Regions from separate parts of the Homo sapiens genome. Here all the other regions are linked to region 2. Evidence: promoter capture Hi-C in 16 types of primary human blood cells and fetal thymus (Javierre and others, 2016). All regions are on one chromosome and are shown on one strand. Each heading gives the region's core, a stretch centred on a gene start or on the middle of the fragment in contact. The rest is flanking DNA. Distances are from core to core; before and after follow the strand shown.

Region 1 (2,700 bases), core at 87-2,586, 3.1 Mb before region 2:
GAAAGAGAAATGTGATTATTGTAGCTCTTAAGGCAGACAACTAAAAAATCTTGTTGAAATGGATTTCTTCTAGGAATTCAGGGCCTCTCTTCAGACTCTACAAGTCATATGCTCTATTAAAGCATAGTTTCCACGATAACTACTTGCTGGCATAAAGGCCACGAACAGTTCTTACTTTCTGGGGTCATTCTTCAAATTAACAACAAAGTCCACCCCATCCCTTACCCCTACCCCTAGGTATGATAATTTCATCTCCACGAAAACATATTACTGCTAAACCCAAGCGGTTCAGCATGCCACTTTTCGGATCTGATGTCAATTTACAATCCTTCAAAGCTCAAAAGCTACTTTTTCCTTTTGTCAGCAAGACACTTCCACCCTCGTGTGTCTTGTACATACTGATAGGTCACAGCAAACATTCATTGAATTTTAACTGGGAGCATTTTGGATGGAAATCAAGAGACCTGGGATTAACTGTAAAACCCATGATAAATTATACCAAACGAATGAACAAGAAGCAAGCACTACGTGTTTTTCCCTTTGAGACAGTCTCACTGTTACCCAGGCTGGAGTGCAGTGGCTCGATCTCGACTCACTGCAACTTCCGCCTCTCAAGGTAAAGCGATGCTCCTGCCTCAGCCTCCCGAGTGGCTGGGAGTACAGACGCGCACCACCACGCGGGCCATTTTTTTTAAAATTGTTTGTAGAGACGGGTTCTCCCTATGCCTACGCTGCCAAGGGTGGTCTCGAACTCCTGGGCTCAAGAGATTCTCCGGCCTCGGCCTCCCAAAGTGCTGGGATTACAGGCGTGGGCGTGTAAGCATATATATACATGATTTTTTTTTCCCGAGGACCTGGTCCCCGAAGCACCAATTTCCCTCAACAGTCATTTAGAAAACGAGGCTCACAGACAAAACACAAACAAATAACTTTTTCGCTGGAGGATTATAACTGCAATAAAAGGAGATCCCAAAGCAACCTGAGACACTGCCTTGCCCTGATTGGAAAGGGGATTCCGGTGATTAGTGAAAGATGACTCCTGCATCCCTCGCGTGCGTCCGTATCCGGGAGCAGCCACTAGGTAACTGTAGAGGCCACTGCAATTAATCGGCTTGAACAGCCAGGAGCGGAAACCCGAGAGTCAGTTCAACCACAGCCACCCGCGTGTGCCCGCGGAAAGCCGATGGCCTACTCTCGTCCGGCAGCGCACTGGTTTCCTGGGTTACCGGCCTCAGCGCTCCTCCCGCTTTCTTTTCCGGGAGGCGACAATCTGACGCTCTCAGCGCGTGACGCAGCACGCTTTGATATAAATGCAGACCGCGCGGCCGTAGCTTCCTCTCTGCTCTCGCGGCCGACTCGCAAGATGGCGCCGGTGAGTGAGCGATGTCTTGGTGGGAGTGTTGTGTGGCAATTTAATGATTTCCGCTGTAACGATTTTTGCATCTGTCGAGTGGAGACGTCTCAGTCAAGATAAAGGGAGGGGAGTAGTGAAGTCTGGGTCAGAAACACAACCAAGACGCGAGGATCCTGAACTGTTTTTCGAGACTCCCTGGCAGCTGCCATGAGGTCTAGTGGAGTTGGAGCTGGGCCCGGAATTGGTTTAGGATGGGTGGTTTTGGACACGCGGGAAAGAGGGAGGCACAACTGTAAATGGGCCGGTGGTACTGCAATCTGAGCCATTTCTTTACTATCTCGCGCCTGATAATGCTTTTGCCACTCAGCACTGGGTAGGGGAATGGTGGGTAATCGGGCCGGTCTGACGACCTTTGCCAGGCCAGAGGGAGCTCCTAGGCGCTCAGCTCCCGCGATGGCCGACATCACAAGTTTTTGAGAACTTTCAGTTGGGGAAGAAGTTTCTCGGTGAAGTAATTTTTAGAAAAGTATAAGTCTAGATTCCAGCAATGTGAAATAAACGTGCTTCAGATGTTTTACTTAAGTCATTAGTAAGGGAACCAGTAAGATGTTAAAATGTTCCTAAGAATATCTGAAAAGCTAGATATACATGCGCAATTTACAAATAAAGTTAGGATAAAATTGCTGGGCTAGCTACAAAACTGGGTAATGCCCAGCATGGCCATAAACCCTATAGGGTTATCTGTTCCATTAGACAGAAGTTGTTTGTGTCTCCCAAATTAACTTCTGCGCCAACTGGGTAATTATCTTTTGGCACATGTTACCATGCTACCTGAGAAAGCAAACTAATGTGTAATACTTGGTAGCCACTTGGGTGAATCTAAATTGGAGGTTATAGTCTGATAAATACAGATTTGTTTGTTCATATTGCAGTGAATGTACATGGTTGCTGGCCACAGTAACATTTTGCTTATGTAGCCATATTATATGGTCTTGGTATAAAAGGTTTGGATATGGAAAATTTAAGTTCCACGGTGTTGGTTTTTAGGTTTTTTTTTTTTTTTGAGACAGAGTCTGTTGCCCAGGTGGGAGTATAGTGGCATGATCAGGCTCACTACAACCTCCGCCTCCCGGGTTCAAGCAATCCTCCCGACTCAGCCTCCTGAATAGCTAGGATTATAAGCATGCACCACCACACCTGGCTAATTTTTGTATTTTTACTAGAGATGGGGTTTCACCATGTTGGCCAGGCTGGCCTTGAACTCCTGACCTCACGTGATCCTCCTGCCTCAGCCTCCCAAAGTGCTGGGACGGCACCTTGCCTTTTTTATTTTTATTTTTTCTTTT
Region 2 (2,700 bases), core at 8-2,507:
ATAGGCTACGCACCTATAACATCCACCAGATAACATCCACCTCGTCCTCAATTAGCAGGATTTTTCTCAATCTTCAGATCTCCCAGAACAGTTTTACTGGTGCAACTCAAACCAAAAACACTAACCACGCCCTTTATACCCAGAGTCAAGCTTCCTTTTGCTTTTTTGCCCTTAAAGTCGAAAAATGTAAATCTTTCACCCGAGAGGTTTTGCACCGGTTTCCTAACCCAACGCGGACTCTTTTAGCTGTGTCTTGATGTAATTCCTATTGGAAGACGTTTTCTCCAGGGCAGTGCAGACGCCCCGAAGAAGGACCCACGCTTACCTCCCACACACCTGCAACCCCTGACGGGATGCTGGAGCTTGTGCTCGGCGGACTGTGCTCCGCTCCGCTCTCGTTCCTGCTTTCGTCTCTCCCGGGAAACTACAGTCCAGACTGCGCCTCTGGCTTCTACAGGGACCCAAGCTCCGCCTCTCCCTCCTCTAGTTGGCGAATTTGGCAGCTGTTGCTCCTCCCCCTGCTGTTTCTGCAGCTGCCCGGACCGGAGGCAGCGGAAAGCAGCTGCCCTGGTACCTTTCCGCTCCCTGCACTTCTGCAGCTGCTCTGCCACTTCCACTCCCGTGGGGGTCCCTCTCCCCTCCTCTGTGGCTCACACCTGGAGCGGCCTCCTGCCCCACCCAGGCGTCTCTGCTGGGAGCCCCGGCTCAGCCTATCCTTCCCCGACCTGTGTGTCCGGATGCCCGGTGTGCCTGGGGCTTAGCTGCTCTCAGGGAAGCTGCCCCTCTGCCCAGTGCAAGTCCCCACACCAAGCCCTCCCTTCACCTGGGCGATTTCCCCGAGGCTTCCTCTCCACCCACACGGCATACTCAGCCCGACAGCCCCAGGATCCCCACCACAGGCCCCTCACCCCCTTCCTTCCTCTGCTCTGTCAGCCCGCCCCCTCAATGGGTGAGGCGCCTGCGGGGCCTACTCCGCACCCTGATTGGCGCAGGTGAGGGCTTGCCCCGCCCTTCCTCTCCTTTCCGTGCACCATCTCTCTTCATCTCACCTCCTCCCGCAAAGGCAGGGAATTCTCCTACTATTGGCTAGAAGTGTCACCACCCATCGCCTCAGGATCCCCCGCATGGCCTGCCGGGAAGTGTAGTCTTCCGATTGCAGGAATTGCGGACAACGCCGGCGAGCGGGACTACGAGTCCCCATAAGCCTCTGCACGACTCCGGCTGGGCAGGATTCCGGACAACGCCTGGTTCCTCTTGGGTCCTTCCGGCGTCGCCGGAGTGAATTGATCCGGGAGTTGAAGAGGGCTGCAAGGTGGGAAGTGAAGTCAGTGCCTCAGTTGCTGGTAAGGTGTAGCTGTTCTGTCCCAGTCCCCGTAGCTCTGCACCGAGCAGAAGAGGTCTAGGGTCACGCAGGGGCCATGGCTGAGGCACTTGGGCTTGGTTCTGGCAGGCGGAGCGGACGGGGCTGAGAGCGGGGCCCTACGGGCGTAAGCGAGGTTACCCTACGCGAGTGGCGTAAAGCGGGTTTGTAAATGCCGCCTGCCGGCTTGGGCCCGAACGCCTCCAGGAAGTCTCCTCTAGGTGGGGGCGGGAGGGGAAGGGCGAGGTTGGCCCCTGGTGCCCCGGGAGAGGGGACAGGGCGGATGTGCCTGGGGTGGGGTCCTTTGAAGGTGTGGCTTCGGACCGAGAGGTGAGGCTGCTGTTTTCCCCCTGCTTTGTAAGTAAGAGAAAAGGGAGGAGGAAGGAAAGGGTGCTTGGGAGTCGGCTCTTGGGGGTGACTCGGGTTATGCCCTTTGAGGGAAGAGGAGCACTGGAAGAAGGAAGAGACAAATGTTGGGGTCTACGGATTCAGTTCCAGTTTAATGATGTGGCCCTCTAAGGAGATAATTTTGCCTTAAACAGAAAGACTTGACCCTCTTAGGTGTCATACCTAAGGTATGTTTTTACTCCTTTACTGCTTTCAGAGCGCTTTCATTTTGGGATGCTGATGAGGAAACCGAGGGATTATATGACGTGCCCAAGGTCACACACGTAGGGACAGACTTTCTGAATCTAGTTCGGTTCGAGTCCAGCTTTAGAGTAGGGACGTTGGTTGTGCTTTTTGAAAAGGGTGGAGGAAGTTACAAAGTAAATGTATTTTATATAGTATATCTAAGAAGCCATTGTGAGATAAAAAGTTGTTTCTTGAACCGGAGTGAAATTCCTCAATAAAGGAAAGATCCTTTTGGAAAAAATAAAAATGGCCAGTTTCAACTTTTACAGATTTTTCCCCTTTTTTTAGGGGTGTATTAAATGATAGACTCTACTCTCACAGTTCATTTTTACGGGTAGGTAATAGGATGGGAGAACAACAGTTAAACAATATATCCCATCCTTAGAAGAATATTCTTTTCTTTTTCTACCTTAGGACTGTTTTTACTCTCATTTTGTAAAACTGATAATAGTGGGATTGGAATTCTTTCACAAAACTACACTTTTTTCAAATAATGTAGCGTTAGGAGAGTTTAGTGTGCCCATTACTAGAAAAGAAGGTATTTTGCATTTCTTGGAGGTAACATCGTCTTTTTTGAGACTTTACTTTTCCCCCATTTTCTTGACTCTGGGCTGTATTTGTGTGTGTGTCTGCAAATAATAAAATTGGGCTCTTGCATATTTTTATTTTTCTTAGCATCAACTGTGACTTTCAATTCATTCTTACTT
Region 3 (2,700 bases), core at 36-2,535, 3.7 Mb before region 2:
CTCCTTTCTCACAGATGGCCCCTTCTATGCATCTTCATGTGGTGGAAGGGCGAACAGGCTCCCTCAAGCTTCTTTTCTCAGGGCACTAATCCAGTTCATGAAGGATCTGCCCTCATGATCTAATCACCTCTTAAAGGTTCCACCTCTTAATACTATCACTATGGGGGTTAGGTTTCAACACATAAATTTTGGGAGACACAAACATTCAGATAGAACAAATGCTTAGAAAAATATCTGCAGCATAGTATTACTTATTATTCAAATTTTCTATTCATTTTTATAAAGAGGGTCTCCCTCTGTCGCCCAGGCTGGAGTGCAGTGGCTTATCTTGGCTTGCTGCAGCCTCAACCTCCCGGACTCAAGCAATTCTTCCACCTCAGCCACCCTAGTAGCTGGGATTGCAGGGGTGTACCACTATGCCCACCTAATTTTTGTATTTTTTGTAGAGATGGGGTTCTACCAAGTTGCCCAGGCGGGTCTCGAACTCCTGGACTCAAACTATCCTCCCAACCTGTCCTCCCAAAATGTTGGCATCACAGGTGTGAGCCACCACCGTGCCTGGCAGAAATCTTTAGCAAAAAAATTAGGTATCATTGTTGGAGTCTCCTTTTCCTCTTCCTCTTTTCTCATTATCCTGAAGTTAATCTGTATCCTTACTGCCTGTATCCATGCTTTATATAGTTTACTACATATTTATACATATGTAAACAGCATAGTGTATTATTCGGCAGGTTTTCAAACTGCACATAAATGGTGTCAGTTCTCTTAATCCTTCAGATTACATCAAGAAAAAAATCTCAAGTCTTGAATGTTTTTCCTGGTATTTGCTATTCTCTCTTTTAACAAACTAAGAGTAGGCCTTAGGCTAGAAGCCCAGAGCAGGAATTGATGGCTAGCTAGAATTTAATAATACTTCTTTATTTTCCATTATATTTATTTTAATGGTTTCCTCCCCCCTTTTTTTTTCAAAGCAAGTGTTGTTGGCTTTCCATTTAGAGTAGTGATTTATGTTTTCTTTTATATTAAGTGTAAGAAAAAAGTGTTGATTTAAAGAAAAATGTTAAGTAAGTGGTAAAATAGTACAGGCAATACAGAGACATAGGAAAAAATTAGGAAATTTATACTGGAATAGCTGAAATTTGATACACACTTGACCAAAAGGAAAAAGTTCAAGTTCCTCCTTCTCACCTTCCTTTACCAGTTGGAGGTCCCTTTGATACTGCAATCTCTCCTTTTATGGTATTTCCTGCAGCCCACACCCCTGCCTTCCCCTGGCTGTCTCATCAACTTCTCAGGCTCTTAGGAAGCCCTCCTCCATTTAGCACCTGGCATCATACTGCATCTATAACTTTCTCATCTAAAACTAAACTAAATCTGAATGCCAACTTGGCACCCTCGTGGCCCAAACAGCTCACTAATGTCAAAAAAGTTGATCTGTTTGTGATGTTTCAAATATAATCATGAGTATAAAACGAAGGCTTTCCATGGAAAAAATATTTAACTCATATTTCCTTATGTTTGCAGTTTTAAAAAAATAGTTGTTTATAGATCTTAATACTTGATCTTAAATTATCTTCTTTCAACCCTGAGACAATACATTAACCTGTTGTCTAGATGAACGGTAAAAAAACAGGAACACAGAAGAGAAAAAAACAAAGACAATGATGGGAAATAATCTGTTTTTTTTTTTTCATTTCGACGTGGTGGCTTACTGCACGTTACTTACTATGTCGAACCAGATGATTTTAGTAAAAAATGAGTTTAGTAATTTAGTATAACACGTTCAAATGTTTACATACAACGTTTACAGGCAAAAGCTACCAAACTGTTGTGGCCATTGAGATGTTGGAACAATTTTCAAGTTTCATGGTGCATGATCCACAATGCATATGAATACATACAATATCAGTAACAAAAACAGTACAATGTACACCAAAGGTTGTTTCAAAGTCCTCTAATGTCTGCAGTCATGATGAACTAACTGCACTGGCTTTCATTCATTCATTCATAAGACTTATTTTGAAGCTGATCTTCATACTGCATGATTAAGAAACCATCAGTGCAGTGGTCAGAATTACATTCTGCTGTTAACAGAGGAGCAAAGAATGCTTTCAAAGCTACTGCTGTATTTGGAAAAAAGTTCAGTTTTAGTGTTTTCTTTCTAGGTATTTTGCATGGCTAAGGCGGGAGAAGAAGGGCTGCGCGGGGATTGGGGGAAGCGACTTCCCACTCTTGATTACAGAAGGAGAATCATGTATACCACTGTAAAACATCCAACCTTTAAATGAGAAAGTGAGTGAAGTGAAATCGCTCTCACGTACACATCTTCCGCGTTACTTCTTATCCGCCAGCCAAACTTTCTCCATCAATCTGGGTAGGTCTGCCACGAAAACGCAGCCTGAAAGAAATGCTGAGTCCTGAGGCGGCGTGTGTTGCCTCACCCAGTGTTGGCTTTGGAGTTACCTGAAGCCTTCTAGCTACTGCACCCAGAGAGCAAGCTTCTCGTTTCAACTCGGTTGTTTCCGTGGGGAATTGCGGCACGAGCAAGTCCTGGGTGTGGCGATGCCAAGAGAGCGCTCAGATCTCCCATCTTTCCCGCTTCTGGCAAACCTTCCCAGCCCCGAATCGGCGAGTGACCAGCACCCGGGATCAGCCGTCCGGCATTCCGGGGACCGCGGGTGGACCCGACCCCGCCGCAGC
Region 4 (2,700 bases), core at 55-2,554, 4.8 Mb before region 2:
CACGTTGGGAGGTTGAAGCAAGAGGATCACTTGAGGTCAGGAGTTCGAGACCAGCCTGGCCTACATGGTAAAACCCCATCTCTACTAAAAATACAAAAAAATTAGCTGGGCATGGTGGCATGCACCTGTAATCCCAGCTACTTGGGAGGCTGAGGCAGGAGAATTGCTTGAATCTGGGAGGTGGAGGTTGTAGTGGGCCGAGATTGTGCCATTGCACCACTGCACTCCAGCCTGGGCGATAAAGTGAGATTCTGTCAAAAAAATAAATAAATACATGAAAGAGAGAAAGAAAGAAAGAAAGAAAGAAAGAAAGAAAGAAAGAAAGAAAGAAAGAAAGAAGGAAAGAAGGAAAGAATAGAAAAGAAAAGAAAGAAAGAAAGAAAGGAAGAAAAGGAAAGAAAGAAATGCTGAATAAGATATAGAGACAACATACAGCTGGGCCAGCTTATGACATCTGATAGTGGGGAGATTTGGGGCTGGGTCCTGAATCTGAGGGTAATTAACTCCCTGTAACTTCTTTTCCTAATCTGTAAAAGGATAGTGACAGCGAGACATTGTGATGGGGTTAATATTTTGGAAAACATCCACATGTTTTTTTCCTTTGCCTTTCTGAGTGTGTCAACTACTTCCTACCTGTCCAGCCTAACACACAGGCATGTTGTCTTGGTAGGGATGGAGATCTGAGAAGGAGATTAGAATTTGTGTCTGAAGGTTTGCAAAGAGGAAGAAGTCGTCAATATTTAGATTCTGACATTCAAGATGGAATTATGTAGCAAGACCATTGCTATGAGACAGTATTTCTATTTTCCTTTATCCACTCCCACCCTGCCCTCTTCCCACCCTCACAGTAGCATGAGAAAAACCACATATGGAAGTTTCAGGTCATAAAAATTATCTTATAATTTAGAAAACAGGCCTTGTGCCTATGACAGCCAGGCCATGAGGCTTAGAGCTCTGTGGTAGAATGAGGATATGTTAGGGAAAAGCAAAGAAAATCCCTCCCCTCTTTGGCTGAGGACATTATCAAAAGGAGAGCAAGAAAGAGAAGAGAGAAATGGGCTTGAGGTGAGTGCAGATAAGGGGTGCATGGATCCTGAGGGCAAGGAGAGGAGCTTCTTTCAGTTTCCCTCCTTTCCAACGACTACTTTGAGACAAGAGCTGTCCCTGGGCAGTAGGAAAGGGGAGGGACAGTTGCAGGTTCAATAGATGTGGGTGGGGCCAAGGCCACAGAACCCAGAAAAACAACTCATTCGCTTTCATTTCCTCACTGACTATAAAAGAATAGAGAAGGAAGGGCTTCAGTGACCGGCTGCCTGGCTGACTTACAGCAGTCAGACTCTGACAGGATCATGGCTATGATGGAGGTCCAGGGGGGACCCAGCCTGGGACAGACCTGCGTGCTGATCGTGATCTTCACAGTGCTCCTGCAGTCTCTCTGTGTGGCTGTAACTTACGTGTACTTTACCAACGAGCTGAAGCAGGTCAGTGCAGTGCAGTGCACTCAGTCTTCGAGGCGCTTAGCAAATGTCTGGTTACCTGCTTCTTTGCATGTCAGCTTGCCCCTCTCTGAAGACTTTCCTGCTTCCTTTCTCTGTGGGTACACTCTAACTGCTAAATCACATAACAACTGAGGTCTTTGCAAAACTGTAAGTTCAAGAAATTGTGTAAACTAAGTGCAGTTACACAACTGGCTTCACTAGTTACTAGCAGATGTGGGCAACAAAACTCCTGAGGGATTTTTTGTTTTTAAAAGTATGTGTATTTTATAATATCAGCCATTGCAACTCTTCATGAAAGCTTTCTGCTAAATGCTTTGTAGTTCTTTTGTTTTCCTTTTCCAAACTTTTATTTGTGCACATTCAATTGAAAAAGATAATTTTTACAGGTTCTTTGGTGCCCATTTTCAGCATACAAAAATGTAAAAGACTATTCACAGATAAAACACATTAGCTCAAAATGGAAAAAAATAACAATGACAACAATAAAACAACCTAAGGTAGTGCACACTGTGACAGCTCTGCTTATGGGGACATGAGAATTCCTGCGAAAATAAATAGAATGTCCTTTTGTAAAAGCAGCAATGACATGTCTTGTAAACTTCCTTTTTTATATTATAACAAGGTTTGGAATAAAATCCAAAGGGACTGGAGCTTACACTGTAGCCATGAATAAATAAAAGAGTCTATTTCCTCAATTACCGTTGGTTCAGTTTTCCTTTTGAGTCCAATGTGCAGCAGGTTTTAAAAGGTGCACAGTAAGAGATTCTAACCAATTAAGTGGTGAATGATAAAATTTCTTTCCTGCTTTCAAACACAAATGGGTAAATCTGTTCCACAGCAGTAGCAACAGCCTTTAAATAGGGCCTTGTTACTGTGATACTTCCTGTCGAAAAAATCTGTAATGTAGCTCTTAGAGTCTTTATCCAATAGCACACAGCAGGATGAAGTTCAGATTCATAACTCACATGAGGTCTATTGCTCTTTGTGAATTCTGGCAAACAGATTTCTTTATTTTTAAATTTTTTTATTTTACTTTAAGTTCTGGGATACGTGTACAGAACGTGCAGGTTTGTTACATAGGTATACATGTGCCATGGTGGTTTGCTGCACCCATCAACCCATCATCTAGGTTGTAAGCCCCACAGGCATTAGGATTTGTTCTAATGCTCTCCCTCCCCTAGCCTCCCACCCCCGACAGGCC
Region 5 (2,700 bases), core at 35-2,534, 4.3 Mb before region 2:
TTCCTTCCCTTGTTCATTTGCCATTCTTTTGGGGAGATTTTAGCCTTTTTTTTTTTTTTTTGGAGGCAATGGTGAGTCCAGAGAAATGGGGACCTCTCTCCTAAATGGCTTATTTACTGTGGAGCTCCTCAAAGGGGAACTTGAAGCCATCTTTCTATAACATAACTCCAATTCTAGGTCATAGTCCTGCATGAGAAGCCGGGGCGGGGGGTAGGCAGTAGTTCCTTAGTGCCAATAGGGTACAATCCAATAGATCCCATTTGAGTCCAAATGCCTTCTCTGGCTCCAGACTCTTTGGCTTCCTCAGGTGCCATGCCTTCAGCCCAGCTGATCACTCATGGCTCCAGAAGGTACCTGTGTCCCTTTGTACGTGCCTTCCCTCTGAAACATACTTCTTCTTCCCTATTTAAGATCATTTACTCATCCTTGATCTCCGGCTAAAACCACTCCCTCCTTTCCTCCCTACAGTCTCATACCTCTTTTCCCCACAATCTTATAATCCTTGTCAGTTCTCACATTGCTCTGAAGTTAGTCTTTTTTTTTTTTTTTTTTTTCTGAGGCTAGAGTGCAGTAGCATGATCGTAGCTCACTGCGTCTTCAAGCTCCTAGGCTCAAGCGAGTCTCCCACCTCAGCCTCCCAAGTAGCTGGGACTACTAGTGTGTGCCATCACGCCTGGCTAATTTTTTTTTAATGTTTCTTTTTTTTTTTTCATTTTTGTTGCCCAGGCTGGTCTCAGACTCCTGAGCTCAAGCAATCCTCCTGCCCCAGCTCCCAAAGTGCTGGGGTTATAGGCATGAGCCACTGTGCCCAGCCTGAAGTTAGTTATACTTTATCTCTTCCACTTGACTGAGTTTTGTTCATGTTTGTATCCCTAGTATCAACCTAGAATTCTGCTTTGAATATAAGACCCCTTTGTGTTTGGTGAATGAATTAATTGTAAAGTATGTGGAAGAATCTGAATGACTAGGTAAGTGAGCAAACTTCAGAATGTGAAAGGTCAAATTCAGGTTGAAGGACAAGCTTGGCAAAGGAGGTAAAAGTAGGCAAGGGAAGTTTGGAGGACAAAGTTATTTATTCCTGTTTCTTCCACTAGACTGAATTTTTTCTTATTAAGAAGAAAAAGTTTCAATTTTCATATAATGCTTTATAATTTCACATGCATGTTCATATATATGATCTCAGTGTTTCATTCATCTTCTTTGCCCTAACACCTAACACCAGTTTTGGCACAGAAAAAAAGCCCATTAAATGTTTGCAAAATGAGAGGAAGTATGGTACACTGGAGAGAGCATAGAACATAATGAGAGAAAAGGAGTGATGTTGGGCATAAAGTTCTCTGAACCTGAATTTTCTTATTTGTTAAATTGTGATCTTTAATAAACCTTCTGGTCAAGGTTGTTGTGAGGATTAAAAAACTCAAGCACCTGGTACTCAGTAAATAAATATTGGTTACTCCTTGAATGAATGAATGAATGAATGAATGAGTAAATGAATTAATAAAGATATATTTCTTAAAAGGATTAATAGGACAGAATTGGAAGCTTCAGAGAAAAAGGTGGAATTTGTGATAGAGGGCTCTCACCTATACTTTGAGGGATTTAGATTTAATACAGTGAGAACACTGTGGGATTATTGAGGCATGAAGTAATTAAAATAGGTTTCAAGGTTATCTTAGCAGCAGGATATAGAACAAGGCTCATGTCAGAGATGCATGCCCTGAACCTACTTTGGAAATGATAAGACTTACACCAGAGTCATGGTTCTGGGAATAGGAAGAAGGACCTCAACCTAAGGCAATGAGTATGACTATCTGGTGTTGACAACCTGCATAATCTGCTGCTCTAGGTCCCAAATTATGAAACTATAGTCCTGGCTAAAACTTTGCTCCAAAAGCACCTTAAGATTTGCTCAAATACAAAAGTTAACATCCAAATGAAGATGCCTAGAAGTTAAGGCCTATAACAAAATATAGAGACTCTTAAACCCTTCTACCACCTATGCAATGTAGGCTGAGTCCAAATTTTAAAAAGATTCTTAGTCATACTTCTTCATCTCAAATAATTTATATCAAAAAATGCAACAGTAGTACACAGGAAAGAATGAAAGTATTGAAGCTAGCATTGAAAAGGTCTCAAACAATTCAACTTTTCTGAACACTTCTGTAGTCTAAAATGTTTAAATTTGAAACTCTCTCTCAAAGATCACTATGACTAGTAACACGTAATATCTACAAGACCCAGCTGCATTCTCAGTTTCAATGTCCTTCTTCTCCCTATAGCTCGAGTTGCTAGGTTCCCAAGGCAGGCTCAGTTCTGCCCCTACTCTTAAAAACTGCTCTTGACCACCAGGCATGGTGGCTCATGCCTGTAATCTCAGCACTTTGGGAGGCTGAGGCAGGCGGATCACCTGAGGTCAGGAGTTCGAGATTAGCCTGGCCAGCATGGTGAAACACAATCTCTACTTAAAAAAAAAAAAAAATACAAAAATTAGCCTGGTATGATGGCAGACACCTGTAATCCCAGCTATTTGGGAGGCTGAGGCAGGAGAATCATTTGAGCCCAGGAGGCAGAGGTTGCAGTGAGCTGAGATGGCACCATTGCACTCCAGCCTGGGCAACAAGAGCAAACTTCCATCTCAAAAATAATAATAATAATAATAATACTCTTGACCCTAAATAGAAGGCATTAACTCTTTGCATC
Region 6 (2,700 bases), core at 159-2,658, 3.2 Mb before region 2:
ACTGTTTAGTTGTTTACTGCCTCTTAATTGTAAGACCACTACATTTTTTTTTAAGTAAAATTAGATGACCTTGGAAGGAGGAGAAAAAGAATCTGTTGTAATCAGCATTGGTATTGTGCTCTTGTGTGTGTAATGAGTGATATACTTGGCAGAGATTAAACAGGTTTCCTGTTCTCCTCTGTTAGGTTCACCTTGTTGGAATTGATATTTTCACGGGCAAAAAATATGAAGATATTTGTCCTTCTACTCACAACATGGATGTTCCAAATATTAAGAGAAATGATTATCAAGTAAGCACTGATTTTCTTTAGAATGTTGCTTGTTTCTTCAAGGTGCAAATACTTTGTACTATCAGTAATAATTTGACAAAACCCAAGAGTAGTTTTGTAGGTTTTTCTAACCAATTATTAGGCACCAGCTATCTTAGAAATTGGAGAAATAGTGATGTTTAACACATGTACTTTTCTAGGATTATTGCTAGTTTGCTATTTTTTTCACATTCTTGCATTTTTTAAAAAGTCAAATACTTATTAGTGTTCTCAGGCCAAGTGACTGCATATTGCAATTAAGTCCAATGTTTAGTAAAAGTACTATTCTCTCTGTTGTAAAATATTTCTTGTTCTAATTTAAAACATCCCTCCTGGATGTTTTGTTTCTTTTCACTGATCAGACCTGAGACATTCAAGAAACTACTGAAATTCATGTTCCTACCAAGTTTTTGCATTAATGAATGTTAGTCAGAACTTGACATTCTTAAGTAGAGAAATAAGTTGAAAGCCATAAATATAAAGGATAAAGTACCTGGTCACTGAGTATGGTGAAGAAAACACAAAAACTATATAATTGGTTAAATTATACTTAGTGACCATGCTATGACCTTTTGCTAAATTATGTATGTAAATTTCAAGTTTTAGTTCCAGTTATACATTTGGGTAGGTCATATTTAATGATAGCATTTTGTTGTTTGAAGTATTGATGATAACAAAATAATTGACCTTATAGGATGTGGAAGCTCAGATTACTTATAACTAAAGCTTTTCTTGAAAGTCTTCAATTTCTGTATCAAGCATACCATATATCAAACTCATTTCTGCTCATTTTACATAGTGAAAAATACAAAGTTGACACTGGTATTTGTTTTATCCGACTTAAACTGATTTTTTTCTGTACCCTTTGTTGTATTGTATAAATTTCTTTTAATGTTGCTATCAACTGCACTTACGCAATGATTTCCTTTTGCTGTTTGTCCACATGCAAACATACTTTTTTGTGGTTTTAATCTAGTAAACACTTTTATATTTTCACTTTCCTACTTGTCATAAATGTTTTCTAGGTTGCTTTGAAGTCTTTGTAGAAATTTGAATTGTCTTGCAAGTGGGTTTTTTTAACCAGGTAGATCTGGGTTTGGATCTAGTTCTGTCACTTTCTAGTTGGATGATTTTGGACAAGTTATACACCTTTCTGAGCCTGTTTTCTCATCTACAAAATAGTGATAATAGGAGGATTAAATGAGAAAATGTACCCCATTAAGAACTCCATAAGTAGATACGTACCAAAAAGTGCTGTTCTGTTTCCCCCTTTTCCTATGTAAAAATTCTACTTAATCATTTCATTATTGTTGGAGCACCAACTTTGATGTGGTACATAGTAGGTGCTCGAAAAATATTTGTTAAATGTATATGTGATTACTGAATGTGGTAGAGATAGTACAGCAGGCTAAAGTTGAGCGTAGAATGTTGTCAAAATTGGGTTTCTCTTTTCGTCTTAAAGTATGAAAGCTTTGACTATTCAATATTAATTATATTCAGTAATATTCATTCAATATAGAATGCTTTTGCCTGTTGCATGTTTCAGAAAGATGGTATCAGCAGTTCAGATAATTACTATTATACTATGATAAGGTTAGCCAGTCATTGATTGGAGCTCAAGACTTAAAGGAAAAATTTGGTTTGGGTCCTAGACTAGGATGAGGCAAATGAAGTGAGGGAGGCTCTTGCCTCAGGCACAAAATTTTAAATAAAGACAGAACTAGTAACAATGACAAGCCATATAGGAGCTCAAGGCGCAAAGAAAATTAATTCTGATCCCATCTTTATTTAGAATTTTGGTATTTTATCATAGGATTTTTGCATTAATTCTAATTTTTTAAAATATTGCATTAAAATGCCTATCTGATCACTGAGGTTTTTTTGGTGCCTTCTTTAATTTTGCACCCAAGACAAGTGTCTTACTTCACCCTTGTCCCAACCCTTGGTATGTACTCCGCACTGCAAAGTGGATAAGAGGATGATTTAAGCCAGGCAGGCCTGGTCCTAGTCTTACTTTGGCACTTAATAGCTGTGTGACCTTGGTTGACAAGTTACTTAACCTGTTTTGCTTCCATTTCTTTCTTTATAAAGCAGAGACATAAATAATAACGCCTCATGGGATCATTTTGAGGTTTAATTAGTTAATACAACAACGCCTGGCATAGAAAGTATTCAGTATTTCTCTGCTCTTCATTTTCAAGTCAGCATAGAAAAATAACTTATTTCTGTTAATTGTTTAAAAAACTAGTTCTCCAACCTGGGCAATGTGGTGAGACGCCATCTTTACAAAATACAGAAAAAAAAAAATTAGCGAGGCATGGTGGTGTACACAGCTGTAGTCCCAGCAGACCCAGAGGCTGAGGTGGGAGGATCACTTGAGCCTTGGGAGGTC
Region 7 (2,700 bases), core at 1-2,500, 4.4 Mb before region 2:
TTTGGTCCCAGCCTATACTAAGAAAGACACAGGCCAAATTCATGAAAAACAACGATTCGCAGAAGAGAACTGCAGCCCCCACCTGCAAAGGGCCAAAGCAATTATATACTAGGAAGAATGTCTAACTTAAAGCCAAAGCCCTAATCACTGCTGGGAGAGTTTTTAAGTCTGTGAAACTGGCCTTCAAATTAACAACAAAATGTCCTGGTCCTCACTCTGAGGGCCAATGACCCAAATTTCCTTACATTAATTCAAGATGTGAGTTAGCAGTACAGTACGCAAATTAATTTCAAATGACAAGAGAAAAAGAAACATAACAGTACCAAAAGGAACAAAGTATACCCATCAGAACCAAACCCACCGGGCCAGCCTGGATGAGAGGAATTGATTCCCTGAGTTTAATTACAAGCCAGGCTGAGGCTCCCAGGCCCACTTCACCAGCACCCTAATGAGACCTCCCACTAACTTTGACTATCCTGGAGCAGTGTTTAAAAAGGTCAGTGGAAAACTGGGCATGGTGGTGCACACCTGTAGTCCCAGCTACTCAGAAGGCTGAGGCAAGATGATGGCTTCAGCCCAGGGAGTTTGAGTCCAGCCTGGGCAACATAGCAAGACCCTGTCTCTTTAAAAAAAAGGTTGATGGAGTAACATAACAAGTAAGTAGAATGTATGTGTTCAGTTTTAACTTTTCACTTCCATACTCCAATTCAAAACCCATCAAATACAAGCACCCATAAAGCAACTTGAAAATAATATCAGAATTCATACCACTATAGTTAACTGTGATTCCAAGTACTCCATAAAGCTAGTCTTTTCCAACACAGATTAACCAATCACCTTCACACACTTTAAACATAACAACATGTAAACATTTTGCTTGCTACATGCTTGTTCTGTAGCCTGAAAAATATATTGTCACAGACACAGTAAAATCAGCTCAATTCGTACTTCATGAAAATTTCCTTCTCTACTAAAAATACCCACTGACCTCTAATAGTGAGAATCTATAGTGGGTCAAGTTTCAGAAAATACAGCAGAGAAACATCCTGGCCATTTGTATAACAGTAATAAAATGCCTGTAATCCCAGCACTTTGGGAGGCCAAGGCAGACAGACTGCTTGAGCTCCGAAGTTCGAGGCCCGTGTGGGCAACATGGCGAAACCCCATCTTTTTTTTTTTTTTTTTTTAAGAAAACAATAATAATGGGGGAAGAAAATTCCTGATTCAGGGGGGTGGGGAAAACTACATGAATACTCAAAATGCAATCTGACTTACTGAATCACAGAAAACACAGCTTTGCTGTATTGTGTTTGGAGAAAGACGGATTTGGGATGTTACTAAGAAATTACTATACTCTACATACTCTTGTAAAACAATAAGATAGCTAATGTTTTATGAGTGATTATAAGACTAGTTTCTAAATGGCTTCCAATATAAAACCTAATAAAAATTTATTATGACAAACATTTGTGCAGCTGATTTACACTGGTTTGTGCCTTGACTGCAGTTAAAAAAATAAACATCTAGAAGTTAAAATTTGATACGGAATCATATACACAGAAAAAAGAAAAGAAAAACTGCATTCATGAACCTCCCCCCATACACCCCGGGTGGCCTTTATGTATAAATGCCATCAGTCACAAGGACAGACAGTTTCCTAAATGTGTACTTCCTAAGTTTTATTATTAGCAAAACTTAGAAAAGAGAGGGAAAGAGAGAGAGCAAAGCAAGGTAGTCAGTTGGGGCACACATTCCTACAACTAATGGAATGTCAAAGTATCATTTACTATTTTATTTTCCTCATTAGAAAAACCTCTTTCCTTCTTGATCAATGCTGGCTTTGAAAGGTTGACTGATGTTTCAAGACCTAGAAACTCTGAAAATAGTTGTCATTTCTAGCCTTTCAGCAAAACCAGAAACTGCTTTTGATAATAACCATGGAAACACCAACAGCATCAACAAAAGGAAAAAAATTTCATTAAAACAAAATAGAAACACAATGTGATCTTCTTTACCTCTGAAATTCTGGGAAAATCTGCTCATCCATCAACACACACCTGACTGTTTTGACCACTTCCCTGCTACTGTGAGAATATGGCTTTTCTTTCTCTTCCCAGTAACACTACACCAATGCCTTGGCATTGGCTCTGCCCATGTGGAATTAGCATGTCGCCATTATGAACCTGATGTGGGACACTGCCATTGGACAGGAGAAACCTAGAGGTTGTTTTAGTGCTTTTCCTTGAGCTAATCGCTCCTGTACACTTCAGGCAAACATTCCCCTTTGCTTTTTAAAAAATCAAATTAAGTAGCACAAAAAAAGGATATGGAGAGGGACTAAGAACTGTTATTAGAATTTTTCACATCCCCTATGCTAAAAAAAACTTTGGAAAAAAAAAAAAAAACTATAGTGGACAGGCTCCAGCACTGAGTATTGGAAAACATGAGTTCTAATCTGGGATTTGTCAATAAAATAATTAGCTCTGAACTTCAGTAATTAATTTCCTCTTATAAAATGACAATATTATAGATTAGCCCTTAAGGTTCCTTTCTGATCTTAAGGGAGTATGTTTCCTCCCTTCAATACCAATTGCTTACCCTGCATACCTAATATTGATTAAACTAAAGCTTAAAAAAAGACACATAAAAAAACTTCTAAAAACCTGTTTCCTTCATTTAAGTACAGCTTGAGCCTTCTGC

The links. The method cuts DNA at HindIII sites, captures the fragments that hold promoters and counts their contacts. A CHiCAGO score of 5 or more calls a contact.
Region 1: a contact is called between the fragment with the promoter of RPL22L1 here and the fragment with the promoter of PDCD10 in region 2, in 6 of 17 cell types (non-activated CD4 T cells, total CD4 T cells, total B cells and 3 more). The highest score is 8.9, in non-activated CD4 T cells.
Region 3: a fragment that was not itself captured here is called in contact with the fragment with the promoter of PDCD10 in region 2 in 1 of 17 cell types (total CD4 T cells); the score reaches 5.1 in total CD4 T cells.
Region 4: the fragment with the promoter of TNFSF10 here is called in contact with the fragment with the promoter of PDCD10 in region 2 in 2 of 17 cell types (naive CD8 T cells and non-activated CD4 T cells); the score reaches 8.0 in naive CD8 T cells.
Region 5: a fragment that was not itself captured here is called in contact with the fragment with the promoter of PDCD10 in region 2 in 2 of 17 cell types (naive CD4 T cells and total CD4 T cells); the score reaches 5.8 in naive CD4 T cells.
Region 6: a contact is called between a fragment that was not itself captured here and the fragment with the promoter of PDCD10 in region 2, in 7 of 17 cell types (total CD8 T cells, fetal thymus, total CD4 T cells and 4 more). The highest score is 16.3, in total CD8 T cells.
Region 7: a fragment that was not itself captured here is called in contact with the fragment with the promoter of PDCD10 in region 2 in 1 of 17 cell types (total CD8 T cells); the score reaches 9.1 in total CD8 T cells.

Annotation. Positions count from the first base shown.
Region 1 is chr3:170,868,831-170,871,530 of GRCh38, reverse strand. RPL22L1 (ribosomal protein L22 like 1) reads left to right here and starts at 1,336. Exons shown (of 4, transcript NM_001099645.2): 1 at 1,336-1,372. The coding sequence starts at 1,364. RefSeq lists enhancers at 172-897, 898-1,624, 1,794-1,843. The HindIII fragment of the contact is 15,380 bases long and covers 1-2,700 here.
Region 2 is chr3:167,733,449-167,736,148 of GRCh38, reverse strand. PDCD10 (programmed cell death 10) reads left to right here and starts at 1,257. Exons shown (of 9, transcript NM_007217.4): 1 at 1,257-1,487; 2 at 1,799-1,935. It overlaps SERPINI1 (serpin family I member 1), which reads right to left and starts at 428. Exons shown (of 9, transcript NM_001122752.2): 1 at 326-428. RefSeq lists an enhancer at 1,006-1,445 and a silencer at 1,496-1,625. The HindIII fragment of the contact is 6,113 bases long and covers 153-2,700 here.
Region 3 is chr3:171,460,979-171,463,678 of GRCh38, reverse strand. The region is part of intron 1 of LOC102724479 (a long non-coding RNA gene); the gene reads right to left. Among named protein-coding and RNA genes, the nearest start is that of TNIK, 1.9 kb to the right of the region's middle. RefSeq lists an enhancer at 2,073-2,573. The HindIII fragment of the contact is 2,430 bases long and covers 71-2,500 here.
Region 4 is chr3:172,522,034-172,524,733 of GRCh38, reverse strand. TNFSF10 (TNF superfamily member 10) reads left to right here and starts at 1,304. Exons shown (of 5, transcript NM_003810.4): 1 at 1,304-1,481. The coding sequence starts at 1,350. It also overlaps the pseudogene TBPL1P1. RefSeq lists an enhancer at 1,323-1,372. The HindIII fragment of the contact is 8,260 bases long and covers 1-1,799 here.
Region 5 is chr3:172,035,804-172,038,503 of GRCh38, reverse strand. No RefSeq gene overlaps it. Among named protein-coding and RNA genes, the nearest start is that of FNDC3B, 2.4 kb to the left of the region's middle. RefSeq lists an enhancer at 2,170-2,229. The HindIII fragment of the contact is 521 bases long and covers 1,024-1,544 here.
Region 6 is chr3:170,904,579-170,907,278 of GRCh38, reverse strand. EIF5A2 (eukaryotic translation initiation factor 5A2) reads left to right here. Exons shown (of 5, transcript NM_020390.6): 3 at 186-290. Among named protein-coding and RNA genes, the nearest start is that of EIF5A2, 2.7 kb to the left of the region's middle. The HindIII fragment of the contact is 744 bases long and covers 1,037-1,780 here.
Region 7 is chr3:172,104,107-172,106,806 of GRCh38, reverse strand. The region is part of intron 1 of FNDC3B (fibronectin type III domain containing 3B); the gene reads right to left. Among named protein-coding and RNA genes, the nearest start is that of FNDC3B, 66 kb to the right of the region's middle. The HindIII fragment of the contact is 2,760 bases long and covers 1-2,630 here.